Regions from separate parts of the Homo sapiens genome. Here regions 2, 3, 4, 5 and 6 are each linked to region 1. Evidence: promoter capture Hi-C in 16 types of primary human blood cells and fetal thymus (Javierre and others, 2016). All regions are on one chromosome and are shown on one strand. Each heading gives the region's core, a stretch centred on a gene start or on the middle of the fragment in contact. The rest is flanking DNA. Distances are from core to core; before and after follow the strand shown. Region 1 holds the start of GHITM (growth hormone inducible transmembrane protein). Region 2 overlaps SHLD2 (shieldin complex subunit 2). Region 3 overlaps BMPR1A (bone morphogenetic protein receptor type 1A). Region 4 overlaps LOC105378408 (a long non-coding RNA gene). Region 5 overlaps WAPL (WAPL cohesin release factor). Region 6 has its middle 54 kb from the start of GRID1.

Region 1 (3,826 bases), core at 534-3,033:
TATATTTCCCAATGATATGACCAGATTCCTCCCCTGCTTCAAAATATTTGACCCCTGTGGAAACAACAATACAAGCCCTTTACTTGAGAAAGGAAAATATGAAATCAGACATTTTTCTTCCAATATGGAGAGAATAAGCTTTAATAGGAATCTTGAAGAAAGCTTGAGTCATTGACTTCAAGATCTTTATTCTGGTACTGTGTTGTAAATCCTTTCTCTTTGCTGATAACAGAAGCTCTAGAAAAAAAGACTATCACTGAAGGAGCCAAACAGAAAACCTATTTGCTAGCTAATAAAATTGGGCATAGATCAAAATAAAAATTAAACTGATCATGCTTGATCTGTTCAGTTTCGTGAGATTTCTCTAGTGTTTTCCTGCCATTTTCAGCGTAAAGAGATAAGAATTGTGTTGCTGCCAGACTCTTTTATTATCCACATAGAAGGCAAGTCTTTATATTTGTCAAGGTTTACATGATTAGGAATCATAAATCACAATTAACTACTGCTTAGGAGATAAAGGTTCATGAATTTTGCATGTTGTTAATCACCTTATCACCCTTTCAGGGTTTTAATCTGCTCTTTCTTCATGGTATTAAGTTATCACATTATATTTTTTCTATGTTCTGTCTCTACCAGAAAGTAAAGCCACAGAGCAAGGACTTTATTTTGTTAAAATAGTGGTAGCACACACGGGTTTAATTCATTTGCTGTTTTTTTGTTTTTGTTTTTTTGGTTTCTTTTTTTTTTGAGACTGAGTCTCCCTCTATCGCCCAGGCTGGAGTGCAGTTGCGGGATCTGGGCTCACTGGAACCTCCGCCTCCTGGGTTCAAGTGATTCTCCTGCCTTAGCTTCCCAAGTAGCTTAGATTACAGGCACCAATCACGCCTGGCAAATTTTTGTATTTTTAGTAGAGACAGGGTTTCCCCACGTTGGCCAGGCTGGTCTCGAACTCCTAACCTCAAGTGATCCACCCGCCGCGGCCTCCCAAAGTACTGGGATTACAGGCTTGAGCCACCACGCCCGGCTGATTCATTTGTATATATTTCTAGAACAGAGCTTGGTACGAAGTTGAGCATTCAGTAAATATCTGTTGAAATAGAGGGAGAGTGAAAAAGAAAGTAACTCTCTCGCGTATTCCACAACTAGCTCTTCACCTATCAAATTACGCGCAATGGAAACATCTTAGTCCTCAGAGCAATCCTGGGTGCAAGGCAGAGGCGGCTGTTATCAGGCCTATTACACAGGTTTAGGGTGAAACTTGAAAATGTGGGCGGGAAAGTCACAAAGCAATGAAAAAACCATCTAGAAAAAATCTTTTCTGGATGTCACCATCTAACATTTGGCATGAGACCCCAGAAACCGGATGACTCGGCTCAGAAGCAGACACATTTGAAAAGATATTTATCTCACGATAAATTAAGGGACAAAAAGGCCTTCAAAAAGGAACGGAATAAACGGAATAATTTTTAACTCTAACATTACTTTCTTTCAATTTTTACATAATTCTTATAGCTGCGGCGAGTGAAACGACTAAAACAAAAGCAAAACAGAGCTCCACTGCCCAAAACAAAGATGGCCGAGACGACTCCCATGCCCACACGCAAAATGGACGCTGACTATGACGTTCCCTGCAACAATCCTCAACTGGCCCCGCCCCACCAATTTGGAACCCCGCCTCCTCAACCCGGAACCCCGCCTCCCCCAGTGTGGCCGCTTTTCCGACAGAGGCCTGCCCGTGATTGGCTGCTCGTACTATTTACGTCCTTTCGATGTTGCGTCATGCAGTGCGCCGGAGGAACTGTGCTCTTTGAGGCCGACGCTAGGGGCCCGGAAGGGAAACTGCGAGGCGAAGGTGACCGGGGACCGAGGTACTGCTCCGGCTGGCCGGCGGGCGCCCGGGATCCCCGGTGGTCCTGACAGCCGCCCTCACGGGACCGCTGGGTGCGGGGGGAAGGGCTGGAAGCAGCGGTGCTGCTGGCTGCGTCAGGGCCGGCCTGCGCGTTGGGGTCGCAGTCCTGTGGGTGACCTGGTGGAGAGGGCGGCGGCACAAGGCCCTGGTCAGGCGGGCAAGGGCTCAGTGTAGCTGTGCTTCTGTCCTCGGGCAACAAGGTGCTGAGTCATCCTTGCGGCGAGGCCGTACAGCCGCTGCGCTGGTAGCGGCACCTGGGGCAGGGGCAGAGGTGTTGTGGGTTGACAGGGAAGTTTGCTGCCGGGTTCTCATCTGAATCTAGCGGGCTGGGTGAACTTTCTCGGGGACCAGGCACCCAAACTCATCAATGCTCACGGAGGCATAAGCCCTTGGATTAGGGTCGGTAGTATTTTCCCCATTTTATAGCAACGACATCTGAGTCTTAGAGATCCACACTCCTCACAAGGTCACTTCTAACCTGTCAGAAGCGGGATTCCCACTCTGGGCTGTTACGCCACATGGAGGTCACTCTGAGCTGGACCTCTTCGGCCCCAACCAGTGGACTGAGTACTGAGGAAGATACAGGACAGCCATAGGTTGAGATGATGTAATGGCACGAAAGTTCCAAAAGCGCTGGGTGTTTTCCCAAAGGCCGGGTGCCGAATTTTAAGACCCTTAATAGTTCAGTTGCAGAGCTCGGAGGACGCTCGGGTATCTTAAAGCAATAGTTCTTAGCTTTTGGAGTGTTCGTTAAAACACACGTTCTTGGTCTTATTCCTAGGGGTAGAATCATTAGGAGCAAAGAAAGACCCAGGAGCCTACATTTTAAGATGCATCCGGGGCACTTTCAAGCAGGTAGTCTAAGGGTCAACGCTGTAGTCTGAACACGGAATCCTTATGTTACAGATGGGGAAATGGGCCCAGAAGTATATCACTTGCCTAGAATTCACTACAAATCATTGGCAGAGATGGGCTGGTAGCCCCAGTTGGTTTACACTCGTCATTTCATTCTGACCTATTGTAGTCACCTCACCTTAGCATTACAGAAACACTGTCTGCTGACTTCTGGTTGACCACCCATCTAGTATAATGTGCCCTGGAGCTAAGATAATCCAGTTTTTAGCATGCTTTTCTTTTGAAGACACCATCGAGGGAGTCTAATGTAAGGGAAACCTGGTTGGTAACTGAGTTTACTTGTTTACTTTGAAAGACTAAATGTCCTTTACGCATTATAGTAGGACATATAGAATAGGTTAACTTAGAATATTTTTATATCTCATGTTGAAGGAAAGTAATATTTGGTATGATTAGCTGAAATTCATATAGTTGGCTTCTTTTAATACCTTTTAGCTTTGTAATGCAGTATAACCTTGAAGAGCTATTCATGTCTTCTTTGGATGACACTATTCCTTTGCCCAAAAGTTATGTAGATTCTTTTAAATTTTCCCACTGGATGCTGGTATAAATCTTAAGCCAAAACTACATTTGTAAAAACCATCACAGACTCTGTAATCACGTCCAGTTATTAACAGCCGTTCTGTGTTACACATAATTTTTGCAGTCATCTATTTTGATTGGTCAAACTGGGACTTAAACCTAGTTTGTTCCTCCATCTTCAGCTGTGTTCTCTGGGATGGGTTTCTTGCATTACAGTGGATGGTTGGGCAAAGAATTCATCGCTGAAAATTAAAAAGGTCGCTTTATTTCCTGTTCTACTAAAAAATAGTTTGTTCCTTGACTCTGACTCTCATATGTCCTTCTCTTAATTGGTTAGTAGGTTGTTTTACTTATGTTTTTTTGGTTGGTTTTGCCTTTTTTTTAAACTAGCATTTCAGATCTGCTCGGTAGACCTGGTGCACCACCACCATGTTGGCTGCAAGGCTGGTGTGTCTCCGGACACTACCTTCTAGGGTTTTC
Region 2 (3,826 bases), core at 403-2,902, 3.0 Mb after region 1:
CGCCCCACAGTACTGACTGCTTCACCTTTGCAGACAGAGGCTCCGGCCCGGCGCGGTGGCTCACGCCTTTAGTCCTAGCACTTTGGGAGGTCGAGGCTGGAGGATGGCTTGAGCCCAGGAGTTCGAGGCTGCAGTGAGCTACGATAGCTCCACTGCACCCCAGCCTGGGCAACAGAGGGAGACCCTATCTCCCTCTGAAATAGTCTAAAATAAGGAAACTAGAAATGCGATAATGCCCCCAGGAAATTCTTTCTCAGGAATATATGTATTTGTTAAATGGTTCAGTATATGATTTATTTTTTATTTTATTTATTTATTTGAGATGGAATCTTGCTCTGTCGCCCAGGCGGGAGTGTAGTGGCACCATCTCGGCTCACTGCAGCTTCCACCTCCCTGGGTTCGTTCTAGCGATTCTCCTGCCTCAGCCTCGGGGTAGCTGGGATTACAGGCCCGCGCCACCACGCCCGGCTAATTTTTGCATTTTTAGTAGAGACGGGGTTTCGCTGTGCTGGCCAGGCTGGTCTCCAACGCCTGACCTCAAGTGATCCGCCCGCCTAGGCCTCCCAGAATGCTGGGATTACAGACGTGAGCCACCGCGCCTGGCCTCAGTATATGATTTATAAGCTTTATGCTGTATGAGGGTTCAGTTATGTATTTATACATACTTGATAGGAAATGCTAAAGTTCACATTCCTATGGATAGCTTTTGGTGCTTTTCAAACTAACGAGGCTGGCACGGTGGCTCACGCCTGTAATCCCAGCACTTTGGGGGCCAAAGCAGGCTGATCGCTTGAGGCCAGGAGTTCAAGACCAGCCTGGGCTCGTCTCTATAAAAAGAAAATAAAAAATAAAGCTCTAATGACAGTCATTAAAACTAGCTGCCAAACACCACATTACTAGCGTTAGCGGTCTCAGTGTACTTGGGTGGTTTTAAAATGACACCCATTGGACCTGCAAAACGATGGTGCTTCCCGATATGTTCATGTTATTCATCTTTTAGAATATGGAAGAGAAAGTTCTTAGTTCTCGAAATATTGTGTAAAATATAAGGTGACAACCTGGATCTGTTAAATGACATTCATCTAAGTGTACTCTCAAAGTCAAAATTATCTTTTCATACAGGTGGAACTTATATTTTACCTTACTTGCTAAATAAGTCATTGTCATTAATTGTATTTGCACTGTGTTTTTCAGTGAAAAATGTACTCTGACCTGAATCCTGAATTTTCCTTGATGGTCAAAAGATTAAGGTATCAAATTTCCTTTTTTCTGGATGTATTATCGTTTTACTCTCTTACATTGCAATCCCCCACTCCTGCAAAAAACCCACGGAGTTTCAGAATAAAATGATTAGCATCAGTAAACATGGAAATATTTTTCTTTTTGGATTAAATTATTTGTTTATGTTCTGAGGAAAAATCTTTAAAAGCTTAGTTTTATTGTTTTTGTTGTTCTTTATAACCTTAGCCTTCAGAAAAATAAATGTTTAACTTTGCTTCTTCTGTGACTTGTTCACCTGAATTCAAGAAGGTGGAATTGGGCCTAAGGAGGTGGCTCACGCCTGTAATCCCAGCACTTTAGGAGGCTAAAGTGGGCGGATCACTTGAGGTCAGGAGTTCGAGACCAGCCTGGGCAACACAGTGAAACCTTGTCTCTACTAAAAATACAAAAATAAGCCAAGCGTGGTGGGGGGCCTACAAAAATTAGCCAGGCGTGGTGGCGGGGAGGGGGTTGGGCAGTGCTTGTAGTTCCAGCTACTTGGGAGAACCACTTGAACCAGGGAGAGAGGTTGCAGTGAGCCGAGATCGTGCCATTGCACTCCAGCCTGGGCAACAGAGCGAGTCTTCATCTCAAAAAAGGAAAGGCAGAATTGAAGAAGCTTTGGAAGAGGTGAGGAATAGAGCTGTGGAAATTACTATTTTTTTTTTAATTGAGAATCTCCTGTGTGTAGGTGCCTTACAAACTGGCTTCATGAGTACCCTATAAAACAGATGTTTTTATTTTTAAAATCATCATGGTTTTGTTTTGTTTTGTTTTTTTGAGACAGTCTTGCTCTGTTGCCCATGCTGGAGTGCAGTGGTGCAATCTCAGCTCACTGCAGCCTCTGCCTCCCAGGTTCCAGTGATTCTCCTGCCTCAGCCTCCCGAGCAGCTGGGATTACAGGCGCCCGCCACCATGCCAGGCTAATTTTTTTGTATTTTTAATAGAGACGAAGTTCCACAGTGTTGGCCAGGCTGTTCTCAAACTCCTGGCCTCAAATGATCTGCCCGCCTTGGCCACCGAAAGTGCTGGGATTACAGGTGTTGAGCCACTGCACCTGGTCATTATGTTTTAAAATTACATACAAGTTGTTAAAAAAATATGAACAGCAGAAATAGATTTTAGAAAAACAGAATGAAATTATCCATCTCTTCCCCCATTTAGTGAATATTTGGAGTATTTCTTTTCACACTGTAGGTATTATAATTCCTGATTTATTAGAAGCAGGGAGTGGCTGGGCGTGGTGGCTCATACCTGTAATCCCAGCACTTTGGGAGGCTGAGGCGGGCGGATCACCTGAGGTTGGGAGTTCGAGACCAGCCTGACCAACATGGAGAAACCCCATCTGTACTAAAAATACAAAATTAGCCTGGTGTGATGGTGAATCCCTGTAATCCCAGCTACTCAGGAGGCTGAGGCAGGAGAATTGCTTGAACCTGGGAGGCGGAGGTTTCAGTGAGCTGAGATTGCGCCATTGCACTCCAGCCTGGGTAACAAGAATGAAACTCCATCTCAAAAAAAAAAAAAAAAACAGGGAGTGAGGCCCACAGAAACCAAACAAATTGTTGATGATCACCAAGCTTGTAAATAGGGTAAGATTCAAACCTGTGTATCTGACTCCAAAGTTATACTATTTATACTATTCCAAGGAGTATTTTAAGTATTTGTTCCATTTAGTTAGAAATTATTTACTGTGATATAAAGTCTAATGAATTTCAACTTTAGATTTATGATTGCTTTTGTAAAATATACAGATAATTTGCAAAGTAAGGTTTTTTTTTATTTTTATTTTTCGAGACAGGGTCTCACTGTGTCACCCAGGCTGGAGTGCGGTGGCACGATCACAGTTTACCACAGCCTGGACTTCCTGGGCTCAGGCAATCCTCCCACCTCAGCCTCCTGAGTAGCTAGGACTATAGGCACCTGCCGCCACTCCCGGCTAACTTTTGTCTTTTTGGTAGAGGTGGGGTTTCACTATGTTGCCCAGGCTGGTCTCGAACTCCTGGGCTCAAGCGATATGCCCGCCTCTGCCTCCCACAGTGCTGGGATTCCAAGTGTGAGCCACCATGCCTCACACAATAAAGTTTAATTATTTGTAGTAATTTCCCATTCAAACGAAGACCAAAATTCAGCTTGAAGGGAACATTCAATAGCATTCCACAAAGTCAAATGAGTTTTCTGCCTTAGAGTTTTCCTTAGCTGGTTTAAAATTCCAGGTCTGTTTTTCTTGATCCATAGCATGCTTTTTTCTCTCTTAAAAATATTTTAGAAGAAGATTGTTAGGATTTAGAAAAACATAGCATATAAATTCTTGAACCATTCATTTTTAAAAATAATTTAATTTGAAAGGTAAAAATATACTTTCTACTTTCTGTCTCACTAAATCAGTCTATTCTGGACTTTTCCTATAAAAGATGTATGTGGCCCTTTGTGACCGTCTTCTTTCACTTGGCAGAGTATTTTAAAGGTTTATGCGTGTAGCATGTATCAGGTACTTCATTTCTTGTTATGGCTACATAGTTTTTGTTGTATGACTGTACCACATTTTAAAAATCTATTCATCATT
Region 3 (3,826 bases), core at 440-2,939, 2.6 Mb after region 1:
TAAAATTTAGTCATTCACAATCCATCTCTAGAGATTGCCAAGTGTAGTCTGCTTTTCCTGCCTTTGCCTGGTTGGTGGCTAGCCACTCATTTCTTAACCCCTTGTTATCTGGATTTCACCTTCACAAGGAACTATAACCTAATCAACACATTTAACTACCTTTTTCTAAGTCCTCTCCTTGAGTTTTCTGTAAGATTTAACATCGACTTCACATTTTCAGATGCCTCTCCTTGGGTTTCATTCATCTATACTCGCTGTATTCTAACACAGGGTCCAAGGCAGTAAGATACAACAGATCCTTCCCTCATGGAGCTTAAAGTCTAGTGGGGAAATACTTATTGAAAAATAAAGTCTCTAGTTAAATATAATTGTGATTTTAATTAAGGTGCAGAATATTATAAGAACTTCAAATGGAGACCTGATCTGGTGCTTGTGGTGGTGGGAGAATCTGGGAAAGATACCTTAAAATTGCTTTGTTGGAACCCAGGCAGATTGTGAAGGATGAGCAAGAGTTAACTATTAACTAGATGAAGAGGGGCCTTTTGTGACATTATACTGACTTTGTTCCTCTCCGCCACTTTTCTGCCTTCTGTTTCTTCTTTCCTCTTTAATATGCGTTCTCCAAGTTTCACTTTTCAGATCACTTTTCTCTATGTCTCTAGTCCCTTAGAATGATTGTTCAGACCTTTCTGTTGGAATAATTCTCAATTCTTTGTTTATGTGTCTTCTGAATCACGTTTTTTTGTTTGTTTGTTTTGTTTTTTCTTTTTTATTCAGTTGCTTTCTACATATCTGTACCTGATTGTTCTGAGCTGCTTTTCCTTAGCAAACTTGCCTCTTTGGTGTTCTTTATTTTTGTTGATGTCATACCAAACCCAAACCTTTTCCCATTTCATCATATCTTGTCTGTAGCCAACATCTGTTGATTCTGCTTTATGATATTGTAACTCTTCTGCTCTCTATTCTTGCTAACTGTGGGGCAATTCTGAATTCATATTGGTGTGAAGGTAGTAGTCAAATCATAAAACGAGTTGGGCAGCTTTCCTTCTTTTTCTCTTTTTCAGGATCATTTTAGACTGGGATTATCTGTTCCTTGAAAGTTTGGAAGACCTCCCCTATGTGACCATTTAGGCCTAGATCTTTTTTCTGGAGAGGACTTTGAGTAACACTTCAATTTCTTTAATAGCTGTTGGTTTGTGTCGATTTTCTGATTCTCATATGAATTTTAATGTTTCACATTTTTTTCAGGAATTTATTTTCAAATCTAGTGTTATTTGGCTTTCACGTAGTTCTCCCCCCACCACCCCGCGACTCCACCCCCACCCCCTAACTCTAAATCAAGTTCTCATCCCACCTGGACTAATGTTATGATTTTCTTGCCTTCACTTTTCTCCTTTATCTAATCTTATGTATTTCTGCCTAAATTAATCTGTAAGCCCAGTTCTTACCACTTCGCCACTCAGAAGTTTCCTAGGTCTTCCATTAAATGAAATATTTTCTGTGGTATTTGCCTCAGATTTACCTGTTTTTTTTTTTTTTTTTTTTTAATACCTTATTGTTTTTTCTTTCTTTCTTTCTTTCTTTCTTTTTTTTTTTTTTTTTTTTTTTGATACAGAGTCTCGCACTGTCGCCTGGGCTGGAGTGCAATGGCGTGAGCTCAGCTCATTGCAACCTCTGCCTCCTGGGTTCAAGGGATTCTCCTGCCTCAGCCTCCCAGGTAGCTGGGACCACGCCTGGCTAATTTTTGTATTTTTAGTAGAGGTGGGGTTTTGCCATGTTGGCCAGGCTGGTCTTAAACTCCTGACCTCAGTTGATCCGCTCGCCTCAGCCTCCCTGTGCTGGGGTTACACAGGTGAGGCACTGTGGCTGGCCTTTATAGCAGTTTTTATACAAATATTAGTTTCACTACTAGTTTGCAGGGTGGGTCTGTAACGGACTTTTCTTGCATATTAAAAGGAATAAATGGGGAAAGGCTCCTGTCTAGCCTAACAGTAGCTGTTGAACTGTCCTGATCTGACTATTGGATCTTAGGAGCAGCGAACCATGGAGAGAAAGGAAAATGGGTTTCCTATCACACTAAATTTTGAAGTAGGAACCATTTCTTTTCCTTTTCTACTTTCCCACCTTTTACTAGTTTTTAGGCTTTAGGATGTCTTTTTAACATCACAAGGTCCATATTGACCAAGTTGGACCAACTTTTTAACACAAGATTAAATGTTGACTTGCATTGAGTTATGTCCATTGTAAGATACACAGTAGTGTTACAGACCACTTAAAATATGCTTCTAGTTGTAAGAAGCCATTGATTGTAAGGTGCACCCCAATTCCGGAGATGCTAAAATATGAAAAATGGATGCATCTTAGAATTGATGAATAGTGTTTCTCTCCCTAATCAAAGCTCTTGGATGTGCCTGGAAATCCCCAGTAGTGTTTTTTGAAAAGAACACTAGTTAGGGGCATAGGGAGATCAGATGATCAGTAGACTCCATCTCAGGGTGGCCCCTGTGGTCCCTAAGCCAGTTCGTATGGGCAGTTTAATATATAACTAATGAGTAGACATTGAATAGATGAGTAAATTATCTTTGAGTATCTTTTATTTACTCTGATGTTGTAGACTTTGTTACTCTTTTATAGTTTTATATTTCTGATGAGCCTTCCTTTCTTATGGCACAGATTTGTTATACTGTTAAAGTCTGGAACAGTGGAGCTTGGCTCTTGATCCAGCTGTATATAATTGGCTGTTGACTTATGAAGGAGGACAGGAGTATGCTAGAGATAGGGATAAAATATTATAATCACATTTGCAGTTAGGGAGATTAGTTACATGTTGGAAAATCATTTTGAAGAAAGGAAGACTGAAGATGTTCAAACTTGTAGGAAGGTCTTTCTGGCCTAGCCCGGATTAAACCCATTTATGCCTAGTGTTCCACTATTGGAACGCTAAGCACGTGGGAGTTATTTATATCCTGCTCAAGGTCATCACCAAGGTCTGATTGCAAAAATTCAAAAAATTGCAGCCTCAGGCATAAATGGGTTAAGATGGTGGCAGATAATTAGGGCCTGGAATGGATAGGAGGCGATAACTAGCGTGGATGAGAGAAGGAATGGGATTGGCAAGAACAACTCCTGGATTTCTAGCTTGGAAAGCAGGGTAGATGTGGGTGACAGATATGAAAAATGAGGTGGGAGAGCTGGTTTGTAGAAGAAAATAGTATTGGATCACATGGAGTTTGAGATATCTGAAACAGCCAAGTAGGGATTTCCACTTGGCAGTTGTCTATATGGGTCTGGGGTTTGACAGAGGTTTGTGCTGGAGGTAGGCATTTGGGAGTCATTGCTGTATAGATTTTATATTCCAACAGTGGGAATTGGGTGGCTCTCTCAAGTGACTCTTGCTTACAAGTGACAGCCCTAACTCAAGTTAGCTTAAAGGAGGGAAAAGCTTCTCCCCACTAACCCCCATGATATTGAAAGGTCTAGAAATAGACATGGCTGGACCTAAGTGCTCAAATGATATAATTAATTGAGGTTGTCTTTTCTGTTCTTCACTTTTGTGGTCTCATTTCAGGCAGGTGCATATATCTGGCAGAGGAAGACATAGGTTATAGGTTATAGAATTACAGGTTATAGGTTATAGACCTCGTATCGAGAACTCCTTGTATGGTCTAGCAAAGAGCCTAAAACAGCATTGAGAATTTTTTTTCTTTCTTTTTGAGACGGAGTCTTGCTATGTTTCCCAGGCTGGAGTGCAGTGGTGCGATCTGGGCTCACTGCAACCTCCGCCTCCTGGGTTCAAGTGATTATCCTGGCTCAGCTTCCCGAGTAG
Region 4 (3,826 bases), core at 943-3,442, 2.4 Mb after region 1:
ACAGGCACGTGCCACCACACCCAGCTAATTAAGTCTGTTATTTTTAAAATTACATCTGTTTGTTTGGGTTTGATTTTTGAGACGGAGTCTTGCTCTGTCACCTAGGCTGGAGTGTAGTTGCACAATCATGGCTTACTGTAGCCTTCACCACCTGGGCTCAATCAATCCTCCTGCCTCAGCCTCCCAAGTAGCAGGGACTACAGGCATGCACCACCATGCCCAGCTAATTTTTATATTTTTTTTTTGTAGAGATGGGTCTCACTGTGTTGCCCAGGCTGGCTGGCTATTTTTTTCTGTTTTCTGTAGAGACAGGGGTCTCACTATGTTGCCCAGGCTGGTATCAAACTCCTGGACTCAAGCAATCCACTCACCTCAGCCTCCCAAAATGTTGGGATTACAGGCATGAGCCACCACACTTAGCCTAAAAGCTACATCTGTTTTAATATGAACTACCTAGTACCTGGCAAGAAGATGGGCTGAGGGGAGGTCCTGCAGACTGAAGCCTCAGAGCCTCAGAGCATCCACCTCTGTTAGTGCATCCAGTATTCCTGACATAGAAAGAGGAATATTATCCTATTTTTTTTTTCCAGACAGGGTCTCACTGTGTTGCCCAGGCTGGAGTGCAGTGGTGCGATCTCGGCTCACTGCAATCTCTGCCTCCTGGGTTCAAGCGATTCTTATGCTTCAGCCTCCTGAGCAGCTGGCATTACAGGCGCCTGCCACCATGCCCCCCTAATAATCCGGCGAGGGATACTATTCCTTTTTAAATGACTGGCAGTTAGGACTGTTTGTTTTGTTTGCAACAACCATGTAAAGGCAAAGCCACCCATGTGGTTTGGAAGGGCAGGAACTGGTCCTGTGCCAAGGTGTGCCTTCTCTCTCTGTGGTGGAGGGGGTGGTGGGGCCTGCAGGGAACTGGGCAAACTCAGGCCCTGCCAAAAGGGATGACAGATGCTCCCCTCCAGCTGACAATAGCCGTGGGACAGAGAGGACCCAGAACTGCCAGATCTTTCCATATTTCAAAAGAAATGATTAATCTAGCTTTTCATGTGAAGTCTCCTGATTTTTAAATGTTGCCAACTAATTCTAACTTTATTTAAACACTGCTCACTATATAAACAATATTCATCTAGCTCACTATACAATACACATCCAGGCAAGTGCTACCTAGATTGAGTTACTCAAGGGCGGGATAATCTGGCTTTATTCTTTCTGTGACCCTCAGGACCCTGCACAGCACCTGATGCGTGATTCCTACTCCAAAATATATATGGAATAGTGAACAAAATAATACAGTTAGGGAAATGAGACATAAATATATTGACAATTATTTATTTATTTATTTTGATATGGAGTTTCACTCTTGTCATCCAGGCTGCAGTGCAATGGCATGATCTCATTTCACTGCAACCTGCATCTCCCGTGTTCAAGTGATTATCCTGCCTCAGACTCCCGAGTAGCTGGGACTACAGGAACGTGCCACCATGTCCAGCTAATTTTTGTATTTTTGGTAGAGGCAGGGTTTCACCATGTTGGCCAGGCTGGTCTTGAACTTCTGACCTCAGGTGATCCTCCCGCTGCGGCCTCCCAAAGTGCTGGGATTACAGGCTTGAGCCACTGTGTCCAGCCTATATTGACAATGATCAAACATGAATAGAATGGGTTGTGACACAAATAACCACCATGAATCTTCGTGATTCTCCCAGCAATTCAGTATTGATTTTGATTTACAATTTTGGCATAGATAATTAGCTCCAGGGGTTTCCACTTGGATGTCTTCATTGCATGAACTAAGGGGGTATTGTGATTCTCACAATAGCTATATATGGCTATTCAGGAAAGTGGGAATAACTCCAGAATGGTTTTGAGCATGTATCAGTCAGCTTAGGCTAAGTTATACTGAAGTAACAAATGACCCAAATGTCAGAAGCTTACAATGAAAATTTTTCTTTCTCGTACTGTATGTCCATCTTGGAGTAACTTCAGCTCTGCTTCAGGCCATCTTTATTTGCGTACCCAGGCTGACAGTAGGCCCAATCTAGATGTTGCCAGAGGAAAAAGAGAGATGGCAAACCACACACTGCCTTAAACCTTCTGCTCAGAAGTGACATGTCACTGATGCTCACATTGCATTGACCAAAGTAAGTCTGCCCTCTATGGAGGATGGATGTGTGGTTTTTCCACAGGGCAGTAACACATTATATCACAATTGGCCTTTCTGGTCTCTGATATCTGGCGTATCTCCAGGCCTGATGTCATTGGGACAGGGAAAGCCTATAGTGCCTCAGAATCAAGCTAAAACACCATTTGTCACCTGATCACCATAAACTCAATTTCTACCAGTGGATCAAAGAGGTGTTCTGGATCCCCAGAAAATAGAGTTAGAGCTCATTATAGTGTCCCATAATCTCAGATAAAATTATTTTTTTCCTCCACTGCACAGTTAATCTGGAAAAAGCTTGTAGGCCTGTAGTGGTTAATTATATGTGTCAACTTGACTAAGCCGTGGGTTGCCTAGATATTTAGTTAAACATTATTCTGGGGGCCTGGCACGGTGGCTCACACCTGTAATCCCAGCACTTTGGGAGACCAAGACAGGCGGATCAGGAGGTCAGGAGTTTGAGATGAGCCTGGCCAACATAGTGAAACCCCATCTCTATTAAAAATACAAAAATTAGCCGGGCATGGTGACGCACACCTGTAGTCCCAGCTACTTGGGAGACTGAGGCAGGAGAATCGCTTGAACCCAGGAGGCAGAAGTTGTGGTGAGCCGAGATCATGCCACTGCACTCCAACCTGGGCAACAGAGCAAGACTCCATCTCAAAAAAACAAAACAAAACAAAACAAAACAAAAACTTTATTCTGGGTATGTCTGTGAGAGTGTTTCCAGATGAGATTAGTATTTGAACCAGTAGACTTAGTAAAGCAGATGGCCCTCTCCAATGTGAGTGGAACTTATCCATAAACTTTACTGTTTCTACTTGACTGTCTGTGACCTGGGACATCAGTCTTCTCCTGTCTTTGGACTGAGTCATGAACTAGAACTTACACCATCAACTTTCCTCGGGCTCCAGCTTGCTGACTACAGGTCTTGGGACTTCTCAGCCTCTATACTCATGTGAGCAAATTCCTTTTAATAAATCTCTTGCTGGGCATGATAGCTCATGCCTGCAATCTCAGCACTTTGGGAGGCTGACATGGGCAGATCGCTTGAGTTCATGAGCATCCTGAGCTAAACAGTGAAACCTCCTCTCTACAAAAAGTACAAAAATTAGCAGGGCATGGTGGTTTGTGCCTGTAGTCCCAGCTACTAGGGAGGCTGAGGGTGGCAGGATGGCTTGAGCCCAGAAGGCAGAGGTTGTAGTAAGCTGAGATTGCACCACTGCACTCCAGACTGGGTGATAGAGCCAGATCTTGTCTCAAAATAAATAAATCTCTATGTGTGTGTACACACAAATGTATATATATGTATATATATAAACGTATATATGTATATGTATGTATATATGTATATATACACATATATGTTATATATACACACACCATATATATATATATATTTATTTATTTATGGTTCTTTTTACTTGGGGAACCCACATTAATACAGATTTCAGTACTAAGAAGTGGGGTGTTGCTGTAACAAATACCTAAACATATGGAGGCACCTTTGGAACTCGACAGTGGGGAGAGGCTACAAGAGTTTTGAGGTAAGTATTAGAAATATGGGCATTAAGGGAAATCCTGTTGAAGTCACAGGCAGAAATAAGGAACGTGTTATTGGAAACTGAAGGAATGATGATCCTCATAATAAAATGGCAAAGAACT
Region 5 (3,826 bases), core at 845-3,344, 2.3 Mb after region 1:
TATGCCCACAGACATACTTTGAAAAGTATGGCCTGGCCATGCAGGGTGGCTCATGCCTGTAAATCCTAGCACTTTGGGAGGCTGAGGCAGGCGGATCACTTTAGGTCAGGAGTTGGCGACTAGCCCGGCAAACACAGTGAAACCACCTCTACTAAAAATACAAAAATTAGCCAGGCGTGGTGGCGCAAGCTTGTAATCCCAGCTACTTGGGAGGCTGAGGCAGGAGAATCACTGGAACCTGGGAGTCAGGGGTTGCAGTAAGCTGAGATGGTGCCGCTGCACTCCAGCCTGGACGACAGAGCAAGACTCTGTCTCCAAAAAAATTTAAAAAAAAGAAAAGTATGGCCTAAGATTTAGATGCTATGGTATTTATTTCTGTAATTTTTGTAACAAAATAAAACTTAAAAAAACAGAAAACCATCAAAAAGTGTATCAGTAGAGGTTTGGTTAAATAAAGTACTAAGGCAGGGCATGGTGGCTCATGCCTGTGATCCTAGCACTTCAGGAGACAAAGCAGGAGGATCACTTGAGTGCAAGAGTTTGAGACCTCAGCTCTACAAATACGAAACTTAGCCAAACGTGGTGGCATGTGCCTGTAGTTCCACCTACTTGGGAGGCTGAGGTGAAAGGATCACCTGAGCCTGGGAGGTAAAGGCTGTAGTGAGCTGTGACTGGACCACTGTACTTCAGCCTGGGTAAAAGAGTGAGACCCTGTATGTATGTATGTATAAATCAAAAAGCTACTAGTTTGCAGTCATTACAAAGAATGTGATGAACCTACGTGTTGACATGAAGAGCTCAGGAAGACACATTAAGCAAAGAGTGGGTATAGACTAAATACTATGTACAGTAAGAGTCCATTTATATAAAACACATTGCACATTTTTTTATTTACTTTTCGGACAGGGTCTTATTCCCATTGCCCAGGCTGGAGTGCAGTGGCAGGATCATGGCTCACTGCAGCCTCAACTTCCTGGGCTCATGTGATTCTCCCACCTCAGCCTCCCAAATAGCTGGGACTACAGGCACATGCCACCACACCTGGCTAATTTTTTAATTTTTAGTAGAAACATAATTTTGCCATGTTGCCCAGGCCAGGCTCAAACTCCTGGGCTCAAGCAATCTGCCTGCCTCAGCCTCCCCAAGTGCTGGGATTACAGATTACAGGCATGAGCCACCATGTCTGGCCTGCACATTTATTTTGATATATGCATAAACACTAATTTCTCAGGACAAACACAAAACTATTACAAATGGTAACGTTTTAGGAAATAGATCTGTGGAGTTTAAACCTTTCTGGATCTGACTTTTTTTCCCCCACTACGTATGTGAATTATGTTTGGTTTTTAAAAAATAAACAGATCCATAAATAGGTAAGAAAAGAACAGCTAGAAAGAGGAAAGTTCATGTCAGTAATCAGAACTACCTGTAAGATTCCATTTATACAACATTATCGAAAAGATACGTAATTTGAAAATTACTGGATTCAGGCCAACGTTATCAGTAGCATAAACGATATAAATCTGAACATGGATTTTTCCACTCTATCTTTGAATAACAGAATTAAGAGCCATTTCTTGACACTTTAAGGTAACTGATGTGAGTACAAGGCAGCACAATTTTCTAAAATGAGTAACAGAACCCATCACCCAAAAGGTATTACAATTGAAAAACAAAAACTTTAAACTGATTTAAAAATGACAAACCATAAACCATAGCAGATAAAAGAAAGACAGAGAAGATATAGGATGATACCCTGAAGGACAAGAGGCTTCTATAACACTAAGTGCAAAAGAGGAATACTGGAAGTGATATTCCCAGGTCAATTAGACACAGTAGGAAAATTTGAGACTATCCCTGAAACAACTCACAAACAGGGATCTCTGAGGGTGTGGGGATGGCTTCTGCAAATGAACCCCTATTATGTGGATAATGCAGATCTATCATCTGTGCCTTCAAACACAGCTCCTGAGGCGACTGACGGTAAGTTTTTATTCATTTCTAGGTTCCATTTGAAGAAAAGTCAATTTTTAAAAGAAAGAGACTAGAATGATAGAAAAAAATAAAACAAGAGATGGAAAAAGATAGAAAACACGTTGGTGGTAGCTAGGAGACAGGGAGGGCAGGTAGGCTGTACAGTGAGCAGCAAAAGGGAATTCTTTTATGGTGACGGTTCTATATCTCAATGTAGTGGTGAGTACATGAATCTATACACGTAATAAAACTGAACAGAGGTACATATGTTACACACAAACATAAATGAATGCAGATGAAAATGGTGAAACTGAATAAGGTCTAAAGTGCAGTTAACAGTAATGTACTAATGTCAATTTCTTGGTTTTGCTATAGTACTACAGTTATATAAGATGTCACCATTTGAGGAAGTTAGGTAAAGGGTAAATGGGAGGGATTCTTTGTACTATTTTTGTAACTTCCTGTGAGTCTATAACTATTTTGAAATAAAAAGTTTAAAAACAAGTCTACTGAACAGAAAAAAAGAATACTTTTTTTAAACGTTTTTGAGACAGGGTCTCACTCTGTTGCCCAGGCTGGAGCACAGTACTGTAATCACGGCTCACGACAACTTCAAACTCCTGGGTGCAAGCAATCCTCTCACTTCAGCGTCCCGAGCAGCTGGTACTATGAGCATGCACCACCACACTCAACCAACTGTTTTATTTTTTGTACAGACAGGATCTCACTATGTTGCCCATGCTGGTCTCAAACTCCTGAGCTCAAACAATCCACCCACCTTGGCCTCCCAAAGTGCTGGGATTATAGGTGTGAGCTACCTTGCCCGGCCAAGAAATGCTTCATTTAGCAGAAAAATAAATGTTGTCAATGGGATCAAAGCGGTAGGTGCCAAACATTTTCAAATGTTTTTTGCATTAAATGAAATCTCTAAATGGTATCTGGAGACTAAAAGCAGTCTATTATCAACTATTGATAGTAAATTACTACTACCATTTACTATTACTGTTACTGATAAGTAATGATAATCTATCACTAGTTTCACATTTAATTTTGTATTTTAAATAAACTAAAACTTCAAGGCTAGTCAAAACGGAGTATTCTGAGTCTAAGAAGAAAAGCCTAGGGATTAACTACCTCTTATCTATAGTCAACATTCAATCACACATAATAGAGAACAAAAGAGGATAATAAAAAATGACTTTAAATGGCTCAAAGAAACACTCTCATTCACAATTTCCCATGCTCGGCTACTTTGCCACTTTCCAGACTGGGTAAGGGAACAGGTGACAAAGGACTTCCAGTTTTCTGTGGTCCATAAGGTCAAAGTTCTGGACACAGATCAGACGAGTAAATAAATACTAGAGGACACGAAGTGGATGTGATGGGCCTGGATTCTTGACTTTTTTTTTTTTTTAATAGAGATGGGAGCTCACTATGTTGCCCAGGCTGGTCTTGAACTCCTGGACTCAAGTGATCCTCCCCACCTCAGTCTCCCAAAGTGCTGGGATTACAGGCGTAAGCCACTGCACCCAATTTCATTAATAGAACAAATGTGCCTTTGTCTCTGCTTTTTGGTAACAATGCTTAAGGAGTGATTATAACAGTCGAAAAAAAATCAGCAAAATAAAGTAAGAATGCATTCTAAGCAGTGTACCTCTTACTGATCTACAGAGAAATTATACCACCTTTTTTTTTTTTTGGAGACAGAGTCTTGCTCTGTTGTCCAGGCTGGAGTGCAGTGACATGCCACTTCGGCTCACCGCAACTTCCACCTCCTCAGTTCAAGTGATTCTCCTGCCTCTCAGCCTCCTGAGTAGCTGGGATTACAGGTGCATGCCACCATGCCTGGCTA
Region 6 (3,826 bases), core at 363-2,862, 2.3 Mb after region 1:
TCTCCTTACTCAGGGGCATTCAAGGAGTTTTCATTTTTCACTATTTAGATGTTGCAGAGAACATATTCATATTTATTCTTTGTGTACAATGCAAGTGTTTTCTCCAATGGATTACAAGAAATAAAATTTCTGGGTCAAAAGATACACATCTTTAAAATTTCAATAGATACCCTCAAGTTGACCTCTAAAAAGGCTGTCACACTGAGGGAGGATAAATAGGTGGAGTACAAAACATTTTTAGGGCAGTGAAAGTACTCTGCATGCCACTAACATGGTGGATAGATGTCATTGTACATTTGTTCAAACCCACAGAGCGTAGAAGGCCATGAGTGAGCCTGCTGTAAACTTGGACTCTGAGTGACAATGATGTGTCATGTTTACTGATTGTAGCAAATGCACGACACTGGTGCAGGATGTTGATCATGGGGGAGGCTGTGCATGTTGCAGGCACAGGGATACCTGGGAAATCTCTGCACCTTCCACTCAATTTTGCTGTAAAACTAAAACTACTCTAAAAAATAAAGTCTTTTTTTTTTTTTTTTTTTTGAATCTGAGTCTTGCCCTGTTGCCCAGGCTGGAGTACAATGGCTCGAACTCAGCTCACTGCAACCTTCACCTCCCTGGTTCAAGCAATTCTCCTGCCTCAGCTTCCTGAGTAGCTGGGATTACAGGTGTGAGCCAGCATGCCCGGCTAATTTTTGTATTTTTAGTAGAGACGGGGTTTCACCATGTTGGCCAGGCTGGTCTTGAACTCGTGACCTCGTGATCCACCCACCTCGGCCTCCCAAAGTGCTGGGATTACAGGCATGAGCCACCATGCCCGGCATAAAGTCTATTTTTTAAAAAGCTGTAACAATTTACACTCACACACAGTTTATGAATGTGCACCTGTGGCTCAACATCCTTACAAAGGAGATGGTATCAATCTTTTAAGATGTGTGATGTATTTAAAAACACTATAGGTCATTATTTGTAAAAATATTGAAGGGGGCTGGGTATGGTGGCTCACGCCTGTAATCCCAGCACTTTGGGAGACCGGGTGGGTGGATCACTTGACTCCAGGAGTTCATGAGCAGCCTGGGCAACATAGCAAACCCTGTTTCTACAAAACACACCAAAAAATTAGCTGGGGTGGTGGCACATGTCTGTAGTTCTAACTGCTTGGGAGGCTGAGATGAGAGGATTGCTTGAGCCTGGGGAGGTCAAGGCTGCAATGAGCCGTGATCACGACTCTGCACTCCAGCCTGAGAGAGTGAGACCCTGTCTCATTTAAAAAAATTACATTGACGGGGTTCCTACTATGTGTCAGGCCCTGTTCTGGGCACTGGAATTTAGCAGTAATGAAAGACATAAAGCTCCTGCCTTCATGAAGCTTACATGCTAGCAGATACATAATAAAAATATGCTATCTGGCAGTGAGAAGAGGCGGTGAGAGGTAGTCAGATTCTGGGCATAATTTGAAATGGAAGTGAGAGGGTAATAAATGAATTATATAAAGGGAGGTGGTGTCAAAATTGTTCCATGTTTGGTGCCTAGGAGCTCAATGAAGGGAACTGAGCTATGAAAGTCTCATGGGTTACATACAGATTGTTTGGGAGGGTCTCAGAGTATAGTTTCGACAGGAGTTAGGAGATGCCTGTAAGACATCCAAGGGGAAAGGGTGGATGGGCGCCTGGATGTGTACAGTTAGGAAAATGTTAGGATTGAAGCTACAAATTTGGGAGTCATCAACACATAGGTGGTGTTCCAAGTCATGAGTCTTGGTGGTCTTATGGGTTATTCCAAGCCATTAAGACCACCAAGAAGTGAGGGAGGGAAAAGAAGAGGCCACAGGCTGAGATCAGGGGTGTGCAGAAGCTTTTTTGCACACAGATGATGGGCTGTTTTCCTAATATAAAGGCAACTTGGTTGTGAGGTGTTCACTTTTTTTTTTCTTTTTTGAGACAGAGTCTCGCTCCGTCAACCAGGCTGGAGTGCAGTCGCGTGATCTCAGCTCACTGCAACCTCCACCTCTCAGATTTAAGCAATTCTCCTGCCTCAGCCTCCCAAGTAGCTGGGATCACAGGTACGTGCCACCACACCCGGCTAATTTTTGTATTTTTAGTAGAGACAGGGTTTCACCAGGCTGATCTCAAACTCCTGACCTCAGGTCATCTACCTGCCTTGGCTTCCCAAAGTGCTGGGATTACAGGTGTGAGCCACCGCGCCCAGCCACATTTTTATATATTGCTGTAATTTACTGGCTAACTTTTTATTAGCATTTCACGTCCAAGCCATGAAAGATTGGACTACAGTACAATCTTTCTTTCTTACAATGTCCACGTCAGGGTTTGGTGTCAGGGACAAATGGGTCTCATAAAATGGGTTGGAAAAGTATTTCCTCTTTTTCTATTTCCTTAAAGAGTTTTGTATAACACCGTTGTTACCTTTTTCTTAAAATGTTGGAAAACTCACCAGTAAAAGTAAATGGGCCAAGTGTTTTCTTTATAGGAAGGTGCATTCATCTGTTTTGCATTGCTATAAAGCAGTACCTGAGGGTGAGGATCTCACTCTTTCACCTAGGCTGGAGTGCAGTGGCTCAATCCGGGCTCACTGCACTTTCCACCTCCTGGGTTGAACTGATCCTCCCCCATCAGCCTCTCAAGTAGCTGGGACTACAGTTGCATGCCACCATACCCGACTAATTTTGTATATTTCATAGAGATGCGGTTTCACCATGTTGCCCAGGATGATCTCGAACTCCTGGGATAAAGTGATCCACCCTCCTCGGCCTCCCAAAAATACTGATATTAGAGGTGTGAGCCACCACGCTCAGCCTAGTTCTAATTTAAAAAAAAAAAAAAAAAAAATTATGGCTGGCTGTGGTGGCTCATGCCTGTAATCCCAGCACTTTGGGAGGCTGAAGTGGGCAGATCACAAGGTCACAAGTTCAAGACCAGCCTGGCCAACATGGTAAAACTTTGTCTCTACTAAAACTACAAAAATCAGCTGGGCATGGTGGCATGTACCCGTAATCCCAGCTACTCAGAAGGCTGAGGCAGGAGAATCACTTGAACCCAGGAGGCAGAGGTTACAGTGAGCTGAGATCAAGCCATTGCACTCCAGCCTGGGCCACAGAGCAAGACTCCATCTCAAAAAAAAAAAAAAAATAAGACTTAATTTTTTAGAGTAGTTTTAGTTTTACAGGAAAATTGAGTGGAAGGTGCAGAGATTTCCTAGGTACCTTCGTGCCCGCAGCATGAACAGCCTCCCCCATGATTAACATCCAGCACCAGCAAGTCTTTGTATGACAATGTGCTTTCGTTTGTCTTCAGTAAATACCTAGCAGTGAAATGTATGGGTGATATACAAAGTGTGTGTTTAAGAAACTGACAAACAGGCCAGGGCAGTGGCTCACACCTGTAATCTCAACACTTTAGGAGGCCAAGGCAGGTGGATTGCTTGAGCTCAGGAGTTCGAAAGCAGCCTGGACAAAATGGTGAAATCCTGTCCCTACAAAAAATACAAAAAATTAACCAGACGTCATGATGTGTGCCTGTAGTCCCAGCTACTTGAGAGGCTGAGGTGGGAGGATCGCTTGAGCCTGGGAGGTTGAGGCTGCAGTGAGCCAAGATCATGTCACTGTACTCCAGCCTGGGTTGCAGAGCAAGACCCTTTCTCCAAAAAAAAAAAAAAAAAAAAAAAGAAAAGAAAAAGAAAGAAGAAAGCAGAAAAGAAAGAAAGAAAAAAAAAGAAACTGGCAAAGAGTTTTCTGAAGTGGTTCTTCCACCTCACATTCCCCACCAGCAGAGTACAAAATTCCAATAAATCCATGCATTTACAATCA

Evidence for each region. The method cuts DNA at HindIII sites, captures the fragments that hold promoters and counts their contacts. A CHiCAGO score of 5 or more calls a contact.
Region 2: a fragment that was not itself captured here is called in contact with the fragment with the promoter of GHITM in region 1 in 3 of 17 cell types (non-activated CD4 T cells, monocytes and total CD4 T cells); the score reaches 8.7 in non-activated CD4 T cells.
Region 3: a contact is called between a fragment that was not itself captured here and the fragment with the promoter of GHITM in region 1, in 1 of 17 cell types (naive CD4 T cells). The highest score is 6.5, in naive CD4 T cells.
Region 4: a contact is called between a fragment that was not itself captured here and the fragment with the promoter of GHITM in region 1, in 1 of 17 cell types (total B cells). The highest score is 7.4, in total B cells.
Region 5: a contact is called between a fragment that was not itself captured here and the fragment with the promoter of GHITM in region 1, in 1 of 17 cell types (monocytes). The highest score is 6.0, in monocytes.
Region 6: a contact is called between a fragment that was not itself captured here and the fragment with the promoter of GHITM in region 1, in 2 of 17 cell types (naive CD4 T cells and naive CD8 T cells). The highest score is 8.8, in naive CD4 T cells.

Annotation. Positions count from the first base shown.
Region 1 is chr10:84,137,726-84,141,551 of GRCh38, forward strand. It overlaps GHITM (growth hormone inducible transmembrane protein), which reads left to right and starts at 1,784. Exons shown (of 9, transcript NM_014394.3): 1 at 1,784-1,868; 2 at 3,737-3,826. The coding sequence starts at 3,776. RefSeq lists enhancers at 1,152-1,721, 1,722-2,291 and a silencer at 1,865-2,064. The HindIII fragment of the contact is 9,095 bases long and covers 161-3,826 here.
Region 2 is chr10:87,095,740-87,099,565 of GRCh38, forward strand. It overlaps SHLD2 (shieldin complex subunit 2), which reads left to right. Exons shown (of 10, transcript NM_001330112.2): 2 at 1,195-1,250. Among named protein-coding and RNA genes, the nearest start is that of SHLD2, 2.4 kb to the left of the region's middle. RefSeq lists a silencer at 1-15 and an enhancer at 58-117. The HindIII fragment of the contact is 450 bases long and covers 1,428-1,877 here.
Region 3 is chr10:86,758,664-86,762,489 of GRCh38, forward strand. The region is part of intron 1 of BMPR1A (bone morphogenetic protein receptor type 1A); the gene reads left to right. Among named protein-coding and RNA genes, the nearest start is that of BMPR1A, 4.0 kb to the left of the region's middle. The HindIII fragment of the contact is 3,501 bases long and covers 1-3,440 here.
Region 4 is chr10:86,544,429-86,548,254 of GRCh38, forward strand. All of the region lies in intron 3 of LOC105378408 (a long non-coding RNA gene), which reads left to right. It overlaps LOC105378407 (a long non-coding RNA gene), which reads right to left. Exons shown (of 4, transcript XR_946161.1): 4 at 1,599-1,628. Among named protein-coding and RNA genes, the nearest start is that of WAPL-DT, 24 kb to the left of the region's middle. The HindIII fragment of the contact is 528 bases long and covers 1,929-2,456 here.
Region 5 is chr10:86,447,733-86,451,558 of GRCh38, forward strand. All of the region lies in intron 15 of WAPL (WAPL cohesin release factor), which reads right to left. Among named protein-coding and RNA genes, the nearest start is that of WAPL, 72 kb to the right of the region's middle. The HindIII fragment of the contact is 3,815 bases long and covers 188-3,826 here.
Region 6 is chr10:86,418,929-86,422,754 of GRCh38, forward strand. No RefSeq gene overlaps it. Among named protein-coding and RNA genes, the nearest start is that of GRID1, 54 kb to the left of the region's middle. The HindIII fragment of the contact is 485 bases long and covers 1,371-1,855 here.